Linked DNA regions of Homo sapiens: region 1 is linked to region 2. Evidence: promoter capture Hi-C in human tissues and cell types (Jung and others, 2019). All regions are on one chromosome and are shown on one strand. Each heading gives the region's core, a stretch centred on a gene start or on the middle of the fragment in contact. The rest is flanking DNA. Distances are from core to core; before and after follow the strand shown. Region 1 overlaps CTNNA1 (catenin alpha 1). Region 2 holds the start of PROB1 (proline rich basic protein 1).

Region 1 (4,649 bases), core at 1,172-3,671, 630 kb after region 2:
TATACACAAGACTGTTCCTCTGCCCAGAGCACCCTTCAAGTCTTCTCAAACTGGAAAGCTACAATTTTCCTTCAAGACTCAGACATCTGTCATCTCTGCCTCACAAAGAGACACAACATACCATGTTCCCCCAGCACTTGTCACATAGCACTATTATCTGTGTGTGTGTATGTGTGTCTCCCATGAAACTGAGAGCTCTTTCGAGTTTTTTGATCATGGTAACTTTCATCTAATCTAACACTCTATACATGTTTAACTGAATTAGCTCAACTGCTCTATGCACAAAGAAATAAGAAACATCTCTCATGACAGATTAGCAAAAAGTGGGTATAAACTGCCTTTTTTTTTTTTTTTTTTTTTTTTGAGACAGAGTCTCACTCTATCGCCAGGCTGGAGTGCAGTGGCGCGATCTTGGCTCACTGCAACCTCTGCCTCCCAGGTTCAAATGATTCTCCTGCCTCAGCCTCCCAAGTAGCTGGGACTACAGGCATGCACCACCATGCCCAGCTAATTTTTATATTTTTAGTAGAGATGGGGTTTCACCATGTTGGCCAGTATGGTCTCGATCTCTTGACCTCGTGATCCACCTGCCTCGGCCTCCCAAAGTGCTGGGATTACAGGCATGAGCCACCTCGCCCAGCGCCAATTCTTACCTATCAGCTATTTTACCAAACCTGATCTCCTGAGTTCATAAATTTCCTGGGGTTAGCAATGGTGGCTTACACATTAACATCCCTCCAGCACACAGCACACTGCTTTGCAAGGCAGACTTAATAAATGAACTGTATTTAAGTGAGCCTTTCCTGATGCAATTGAGATACAGCAAAATGGCCAGGCACAGTGGCTCTCACCTATAATCCCAGCACATTGGGAGGAAGAGGCTGGTGGATCACTTGAGGTCAGGAGTTCAAGACCAGCCTGGCCAACATGGTGAAACCTCGTCTCTACTAAAAATAAGAAAATTAGCTGGGGCCGGGCGCGGTGGCTCACGCCTGTAATCCTAGCACTCTGGGAGGCCGAGGCGGGCGGATCACCTGAGGTCAGGAGTTTGAGACCAGCCTGGCCAACCTGGTGAAACCCCATCTCTACTAAAAATATGAAAATTAGCTGGGCGTGGTGGTGGGTGCCTGTAATCCCAGCTATTTGGGAGGCTGAGGCAGGAGAATCACTTGAACCTGGGAGGCGGAGGTTGCAGTGAGCCGAGATCATGCCATTGCACTCCAATCTGGGGGACAGAGCAAGACTCCGTCTCAAAAAAACAAAAAGAAAACAAGCTGGGCATGGTGGCAGGCACCTGTAATCCCAGATACTCGGAAGGCTGAGGCAGAAGAATCGCTAGAATCCTGGAGCCAGAGGCTGCAGTGAAGAGAGATCGCATCACTGCACTCCCACTCCAGCATGGGCGACAGGGCGAGATCTCAAAAAAAAAAAAAAAAAAAAAAGAGAGAGATACAGCAAATTACTGCTTTAGACTAACTCAAAGCAACTAGAAAACATCACATCTTTCACTGGTCTTAAAGACCCGAAATAAATGTCATCTGGCCAGGTACAGTGGCACACACCTATAATCCCAGCACTTTGGGAGGCTGAGGTGGGCGGATCACCTGAGGTCAGGAGTTCGAGACCAGCCTGACCAACATGGAGAAACCCCGTCTCTAATAAAAATACAAAATCAGCCAGGCGTGGTGGTGCATGCCTGTAATCCCAGCTACTCGGGAGGCTAAGGCAGGAGAATCGCTTCAACCCAGGAGGCAGAGGTTGCGGTCAACTGAGATCATGCCACTGCACTCCAGCCTGGGCAACAAAAGCAAAACTCCGTCTCAAATTAAAAAAAAAGAAAAAAGTTGCCATCTTCCATTTCCACTTTTTTTTCCCTCCCAAGGGATCAAACTCACATTTCACTTAGTTACCTCTCTGCAAAATGGAAGGTTTCTTTTTTTTGTTGAGACAGAGTTTCACTCTTGTTGCCCAGGCTGGAGTGCAATGGCACGATCTCAGCTCACTGCAACCTCCGCCTTCCAGGTTCAAGGGATTCTTCTGCCTCAGCCTCCCGAGTAACTGGGATTACAGGCATGTGCCACCATGCCCGGCTAATTATTTTTTTGTTTTTTGTTTTTTGTTTTTTTGAGACAGATTCTCGCTCTGTCACCCACGCTGGAGTGCAATGGCACAATCTCAGCTCACTGCAACCTCCACCTCCCGGGTTCAAGCAATTCTCCTGCCTCAGACTCAGGAGTAGCTGGGATTACAAGTGTGAGACACCGCGCCCTGCAATTTTTTGTATTTTTAGTAGAGACGGTGTTTCTCCATGTTAGTCAGGCTAGTCTTGAACTCCTGACCTCAGGTGATCTGCCCGCCTCCCAAAGTGCTGGGATTAAAGGCGTGAGCCACCGCACCCAGCCTAAATGGCAGGTTTCTAAAGACACACTTAAAAGTCAGTCCAAAGCTTTTCTAAAAATATGATAACCCAGGTCCACAGACGCAAGAGAATGACAACAAATGAATCCCTCATGAAACCTTTTGCCAATTTAGAGATCCCCAGGAATATAAAACCCACAAACACTGTTTCATCAGTAATAGTAACATGCTTCTCCCTTTTAGCCTCTAGCTTATTCACTGCACCATCATATTTCACAAACCATGATTTAGAATTTGGATTGTAAACTCAGGCCAGGCACAGTGGCACATGCCTGTAATCCTAGCACTTTGGAGGCCAAGGTGGGCAGATCGCTTGAGTTCAGGAGTTCAAAGATCAGCCTAAGCAATATGGTGAGACCTGTCTCTACTAAAAATGTAAAAAATTAGCTGGGTGTCGTAGTACACACCTATGGTCCCAGCTATTCAGAAGGCTGAGGTGGGAGGATGGCTTGACCCTGTCTCAAAAAAAAAGCTTGGATTAATATTGAAATATTGAATCTAATGAAATATTCAACATACCATGAGAGAATGGTAACAATGCATCTTTGCCTAGAAAGAATGCATGTAACAGAGCCGCACAGGGCAAATGCACTATCAAAGGCTCAATCCTTCAATTAACTTGAAATGGGCCATAGTGAATGTGTTTTCTGAGTTATAACAGCACTTTCATTTTCAAGAACAGTCTGTATGTAGTCTAACCTAGTTAATAAATACAGGATTATGTAACTTGGTAATTAACCAGGTTTCCAACTCACATCTTCAATTCAGAATGTCAAATACTGACAAAAAAAAACATAGCAATAAGACACTTTCAAGAGAGTTGATGAGCCACTTATTTTTGACAATATTTAATAATGAAACCTCAAAACAAGAAAATGAAGGAAATTCACAGCTTGATATGATGGAATCAAATAGTCAAAACTAAGCAATCTAGGGAAAAAATTAGCCTTTAAATTAGCAATTAAGAAAGATAAATTTTTCTTCTGTTAAGCCCTTTTAGTCTAAAAAGAAAAAAAAACCTCTTAGAGACAAAAATTACATTAGCTTCCACAATATAGTTCCATCCCTCCTTTTAATAAAATGGGAACATGAAAAAAATGACAGACATTTTAAAAATCACTTCACACTACTCATACAATATTGTTCAAAATGAGCAAATGTTACAAGTATTTAGAACATCCGAAGTTGCCCTGTGAACTGTATTTACATTACATGCATTACTCCAAACTTACAGCTGGTAAAAAAAAAAAACCACAAATTAAATCCCAATCAAAAAGAGGGGTTGATCGATGACAGCCCATCAACAAGTAAGTGGAAATACATGCTAATTTCAAGCTCCATTAGAAATGGAGTTGTGGCATACTTCCACATGGAGAAAAATAAGTTTGATAGTTATAAAAAAAAACTAAAGAAAATAATGAACATTTAAGGCTCTAACAGAGAAAGGGCAATGTTGACATTTTATTTTTGAAGTGTGGTTCTTTGCACACTTGGAACTTTCAATAATGGATAATTCAGTATAGTGCTCTCACAAGTGAGCAAACAGCATGAGACAAGGCAAGTCACGCTGGACTAATTCCCCACACTGTTCAGTCCATTCAATCCAGGCCCACAACATGTGGGGGACAGGGCAGATCACCAAGCAGTACATGTAATATCTTCAAGGTCTGGAAGCAGGCATACTGGTACCCAGGCAAGTTTCAGAAAGTGCTGCTCTATGAGACTCTTCCAGATGTGTTTTAACTTTTTCCTTACAGAAAACAGAAGCTGCTAATAAGACTTAAATCCTCCAACATGCATAGAATAATAACCTAAATTTCTTTAGGACTTCAAAGTGGGCCAGGCGCAGTGGGTCACGCCTGTAATCTCAGCTCTTTGGGAGGCCAAGGCAGGTGGATCACTTGAGCTCAGGAGTTTGAGACCAGCCTGGGAAACACGGTGAAACTCTGTCTCTACAGAAAACACAAAAATTAGCCAGGCATTGTGGCAGGCGCCTGTAGTCCCAGCTCCATAGGAGGCTGCGGTGAGGGGATCACTTTCAACCCGGGAGGTCAAGGCTGCAGTGAGGTGTGATTGCACCACTGCACTCCAGCCTGGATGACTGAGTGAGACCCTGTATCAACAACAACAAAAAGACCTCAAAGTGTGTGGTTTTGGTCACTTGAGAAAAAAATGATTTGGGCAGAGAAGGTAGAAAGAATAATTGGGTTCATGTTTTTCACTACTTATTT
Region 2 (4,520 bases), core at 2,021-4,520:
CCCAGACTGGTCTCTTACTCCTGGGCTCAAGCCATCCTCCTGCCTCAGAAAGTCATCTTTGCCTCAAATGTACGATTAATTTGGGGGTAGGCTTTGCCACCACTATCTCACTGGGTCCTCCCCAGACCACTGTGGGATAGGGCTGTCTCTTTCCCCATCTTTGAAATGAGGAAACAGGTCTGAAAATCGAGGCAACTCCCATCTTCTCCCACCACCCCTGAAGCCCTAGCACAAGGCTGGGCATCCAGCCAGCCCTCGGGAAGTTTGTTTGGACTGGGATGACTGAACTAGGTCTTTTTTCTGAGTCCTAAACCCCCAGGGACATCCCGTTCATTCGGTCTGCAAATATACTTTTTGTATACCTACTATGTGCCAGGTGCTGTTTTAGGCCTTAGGGATAAAGCCGTGAATAAAACAAAGATCCTTGTCCTTGTGGACCTTACATCCCAGCAGCGGAGAAGACAGATGAGTAAAGTATATGGTATGTTAGGTAAAAGTGTTAAGAAAAATAAAGCAGGATGTTGGGCATGGTGGCTCACGCCTGTAATCCCAGCATTTTGGGAGGCTGAGGTGGGTGGATCACCTGAGGTCAGAAGTTCGAGACCAGCCTGGCCAACATGGTGAAACCCCATCTCTACTAAAAATACAAAAATTAGCTGGGCGTGGTGGCAGGCGCCTGTAATCCCAGCTACTCGGGAGGCTGAGGCAGGAGAATTGCTTGAACTCAGGAGGTGGAGGTTGCAGTGAGCCAAGATCATGCCACTGCACTCCAGCCTGGCGACAGAGCAAGACTCAGTCTCAAATACAAAAAAAAAAAAAAGAGAAAGCAGGAAGAGGGAACAGGAAGTACTGGGAAATGTAATTTTTTGATGAGGGAGAGTTTCTCCAAGGAGGCAACATCTGTAAAGACCTGCAGGAGTTGAGGGCAGGCGCCATTCATCTTCCAGCCTTTGGTCAGGCCTGCCCACTTCTCTCCAAGGACCTTCTCCTGCCCTCATGTGGGTCCTCTGGTCCAGAATAGACTTGTGAAGTCATTGACAACAATCCTCAAACACTGCACTCCCCCAAGACTGCATAATAAACTCATTCATACTAAGGTATTAGCAGTTCTTCATGGAGAACTCTTGGGTGGGGAGCCAAGCTCTGAAAAGCCCCGTGAGGGAATGCCTTATCTCAGGAAGGAGCCCTGGGATGGGAACCACCCCTCCTCCCTGCCTCTCTCCCCCACAGAGATTGAGTCTCACATTATAAAGCAAGAAGATATACTTAATGGCAAAGAGAATGAGATTAAAGAGTTGCAGCAAGTTATCAGCCAGCAGAAACAGATCTTCAGGTGAGGGGTCTGGGCCCGGCTGGGGGTTGTTGATGACACTGGGGAGCCAGACCTCTGGCCCCTACCTACCCTTGGCTGTCCACAGCCCACCACCAGCCGGCTCCGTTGCAGGAATCACATGTCTGACTTCCGGATCCAGAAGCAGCAGGAGAGCTACATGGCCCAGGTGCTGGACCAGAAGCATAAGAAAGCCTCAGGGACACGTCAGGCCCGCAGCCACCAGCATCCCAGGGAAAAATAAAATGGCCGCCGCTTTCCTGTTCTCTGGCTGTAATCCCCAGCCTCTGCCTTCTCTGCTCTGGGAGTCCCCAGCCTCTAGCCCCTGCTACTTCCCTCCCTCTTGGATAGTGGTAGGGGTCCACAAGGTGGGGGCTTGTAGCCTAGGGGAGGAGCTGGGTCTTTGTTGTCTGGTAGGCACCACCGCTTCCTTTGGGTATTTAATCCCTTCCTATATAAACAGCCCTGGTTACCCAGTAATATTCCACCCCACTCCCAGTGTCCTGGTAAATTTAACTTCCCAACTTGACTACAGGGCCGGAAGCCCTGACCAGAAACTTCAAAGACAGTGGGTTCCAGAACCACAAGGAATTTGGGAAGTCAGTTTCCATCACATGACAATAATGTTATACCTGCAAATTGCATTTGCACCTGCTGACACCTCCCCCAAACGGGAGCTTCACAATGGGAGGAAGAGAAAAGACAATGCTGTGTGTGGTTTTAAGGTGGAGAAACAATCTGGGAAGGGACCTCAATTTGCACAAGTTGCACAGGCAGGGCTGGATGGGATGGAGCAGCAACATTTTTTCAGAAGCCATCACCGAGTGCCCCCTAGGTGATCATGGGGACACACCCAGGCAGAGGACCCACTTCAGGGGTCAGATTAGCCCAGTGTAGCCTGTCCTGGGTCGGTTTGAGGCCAAGTGCACAGGAGGGGGCAGTGCTCTTGCTCCAGGGCCAGCTGGGGCCTGAGTCATAGCAGGACCTTGAAGCCAGAAGTTTAAGGGCAAGTGGTGCCCACAGTTGTAAGACAATGACAGGTGGTGGTTGCCTCCCCACCAGCGCCTGTCCCCAGGGCAGGTCCTAAGGCTGTGGGGGCTGAAGTTAGGGCCTTGTGAATACCTGGGGGAGCACAGGGCTGTTCTGGCCGCAGGGGCCTTTGGAGCTGGGACCACAAGCTACTTCGAAGCTTCCTGTAGGACCCCACATCGGTATCCAGGGCCTGTTCTAGGTGCTGAGGCAGACTGAAAGCTAGAGCTGTCCACTCCAGCTCCTTCCAATAGGTCCCACCGAGGGCAGTGGGTCCAGCCAGTGGTAGTACCTTCCTGAGGCCCTGAGGAGTCAGGGAAGCCTCTAGCGGTGCTCCTCACTCTACTGAAGGGGATCAGGAAGAGTGTAACTGGGGTCAAGAAAGGTGGTGTGTGCACCCTTAAGAGCTCTAGCTGAGGCCAGCAATGGCAATGGGGGTCCCCTGCAGTGATGCTAAGGCACCCGGGGCTGAGGGGAAGATGAAATTGCTGGCCCTACCTGAGTCTCCTGGCCTGAAGGTCTGGTTCACCCGCTCACAGCCTGAACTGCACACAGCAGTGCCTGACTTCAGGCGGATCCCTGCTGGGCTTCAGTTTCCTCACCTGTGATAGGTGGAGTTGGGCCTAACTCCTGGCTCCAAGGCTTTGAAAGTTGGGCCTGCCATTCCCTCACCTGCCTGTCAGCCAAAGCTTGGAGCCCACCCCAGGTACTCCGGCTTGTGCCTGAGAAGGGGGTTAGTTGGGCATGGGGGCTGGACAGGGAAGGGTGCAGGGCCCAGGTCTTTTCTGCTGCCGGCGCCGCTGGCTCAGGAGTGGACGCGGCCGCTTTAAGGCGCGGTGACCCCCACGGCATCCTCGGGCGGGGCGGGGACAGTGCCGGCGCCACCAGCGGAGGCGAATGCGAGGGAGATAGTGCACGGCGTCCGGCCCCACCATGCTGACCGCGCTCGCCCCGCCAGCCCTGCCTGGGATCCCGAGGCAGCTGCCCACGGCCCCCGCGCGGCGCCAGGACTCCTCCGGTTCGTCAGGCTCCTACTACACGGCTCCAGGTTCTCCGGAGCCCCCGGACGTTGGGCCGGACGCGAAAGGCCCAGCGAATTGGCCCTGGGTGGCTCCTGGGCGGGGGGCGGGCGCGCAGCCTCGCCTGTCCGTCAGCGCCCAGAATAGCCGCCAGCGGCACGGGCCCGGCTCGGGTTTCCCGCGAGGCCCAGGTTCCGGCCCACGGCCACCCCAGCCCCAGCTGCGCACGCTGCCGTCGGGGGAGATGGAAGTCATCTTCGGCGTCGGACCCCTGTTCGGCTGCTCCGGCGCAGACGATCGCGAGGCGCAACAACAGTTCACGGAGCCGGCCTTCATCAGCCCCTTGCCGCCGGGGCCAGCGTCTCCCGCCGCGGTCCCACGCCAGTCCCAGGTCCCCGATGGTGGCTCCCGCTGGGCCACCTACCTAGAGCTGCGGCCCCGTGGGCCAAGTCCTGCCGCCCCAGCGCAGTTCGAGTGTGTGGAGGTGGCTCTGGAGGAGGGCGCCGCGCCCGCCAGGCCCCGGACAGTGCCCAAGCGTCAGATCGAGCTGCGCCCCCGGCCCCAGAGTCCCCCAAGGGCGGCCGGCGCGCCGCGCCCCCGGCTGCTCCTGCGCACCGGTTCCCTGGACGAGTCGCTGGGCCCCCTGCAGGCCGCCGCGGGCTTCGTGCAGACGGCGTTGGCCAGAAAACTGAGCCCCGAGGCCCCGGCCCCGAGCAGCGCCACCTTCGGGTCCACGGGGCGGTCGGAACCTGAGACCCGGGAAACGGCCCGCAGCACCCACGTGGTCCTGGAGAAGGCTAAGTCTCGGCCACTTCGCGTACGAGATAATTCGGCCCCCGCCAAGGCCCCGAGGCCGTGGCCCAGCCTCCGCGAGCGCGCGATTCGGCGCGACAAGCCTGCGCCCGGGACGGAGCCGCTGGGTCCTGTTAGTTCCAGCATCTTCCTTCAGTCAGAGGAGAAGATCCAGGAGGCGCGGAAGACTCGGTTCCCGCGAGAGGCGCCGGATCGAACTGTTCAGAGGGCACGGAGTCCGCCTTTTGAGTGTAGGATCCCCTCGGAGGTTCCGAGTAGGGCTGTGAGGCCAAGGAGCCCGTCCCCGCCACGGCAGACTCCAAATGGGGCTGTACGGGGTCCTCGCTGCC

The links. The method cuts DNA at HindIII sites, captures the fragments that hold promoters and counts their contacts. A contact is called where the count stands out against the background at its distance.
Region 1: a fragment that was not itself captured here is called in contact with the fragment with the promoter of PROB1 in region 2 in 1 of the 25 tissues and cell types used here (dorsolateral prefrontal cortex).

The regions. Positions count from the first base shown.
Region 1 is chr5:138,761,662-138,766,310 of GRCh38, reverse strand. All of the region lies in intron 1 of CTNNA1 (catenin alpha 1), which reads right to left. Among named protein-coding and RNA genes, the nearest start is that of CTNNA1-AS1, 10 kb to the right of the region's middle. The HindIII fragment of the contact is 4,511 bases long and covers 166-4,649 here.
Region 2 is chr5:139,393,854-139,398,373 of GRCh38, reverse strand. It overlaps PROB1 (proline rich basic protein 1), which reads left to right and starts at 3,270. Exons shown (of 1, transcript NM_001161546.2): 1 at 3,270-4,520. The coding sequence starts at 3,293. SPATA24 (spermatogenesis associated 24) reads left to right here. Exons shown (of 6, transcript NM_194296.2): 5 at 1,231-1,333; 6 at 1,445-1,607. The coding sequence ends at 1,574. RefSeq lists a silencer at 3,755-4,044. The HindIII fragment of the contact is 5,508 bases long and covers 2,785-4,520 here.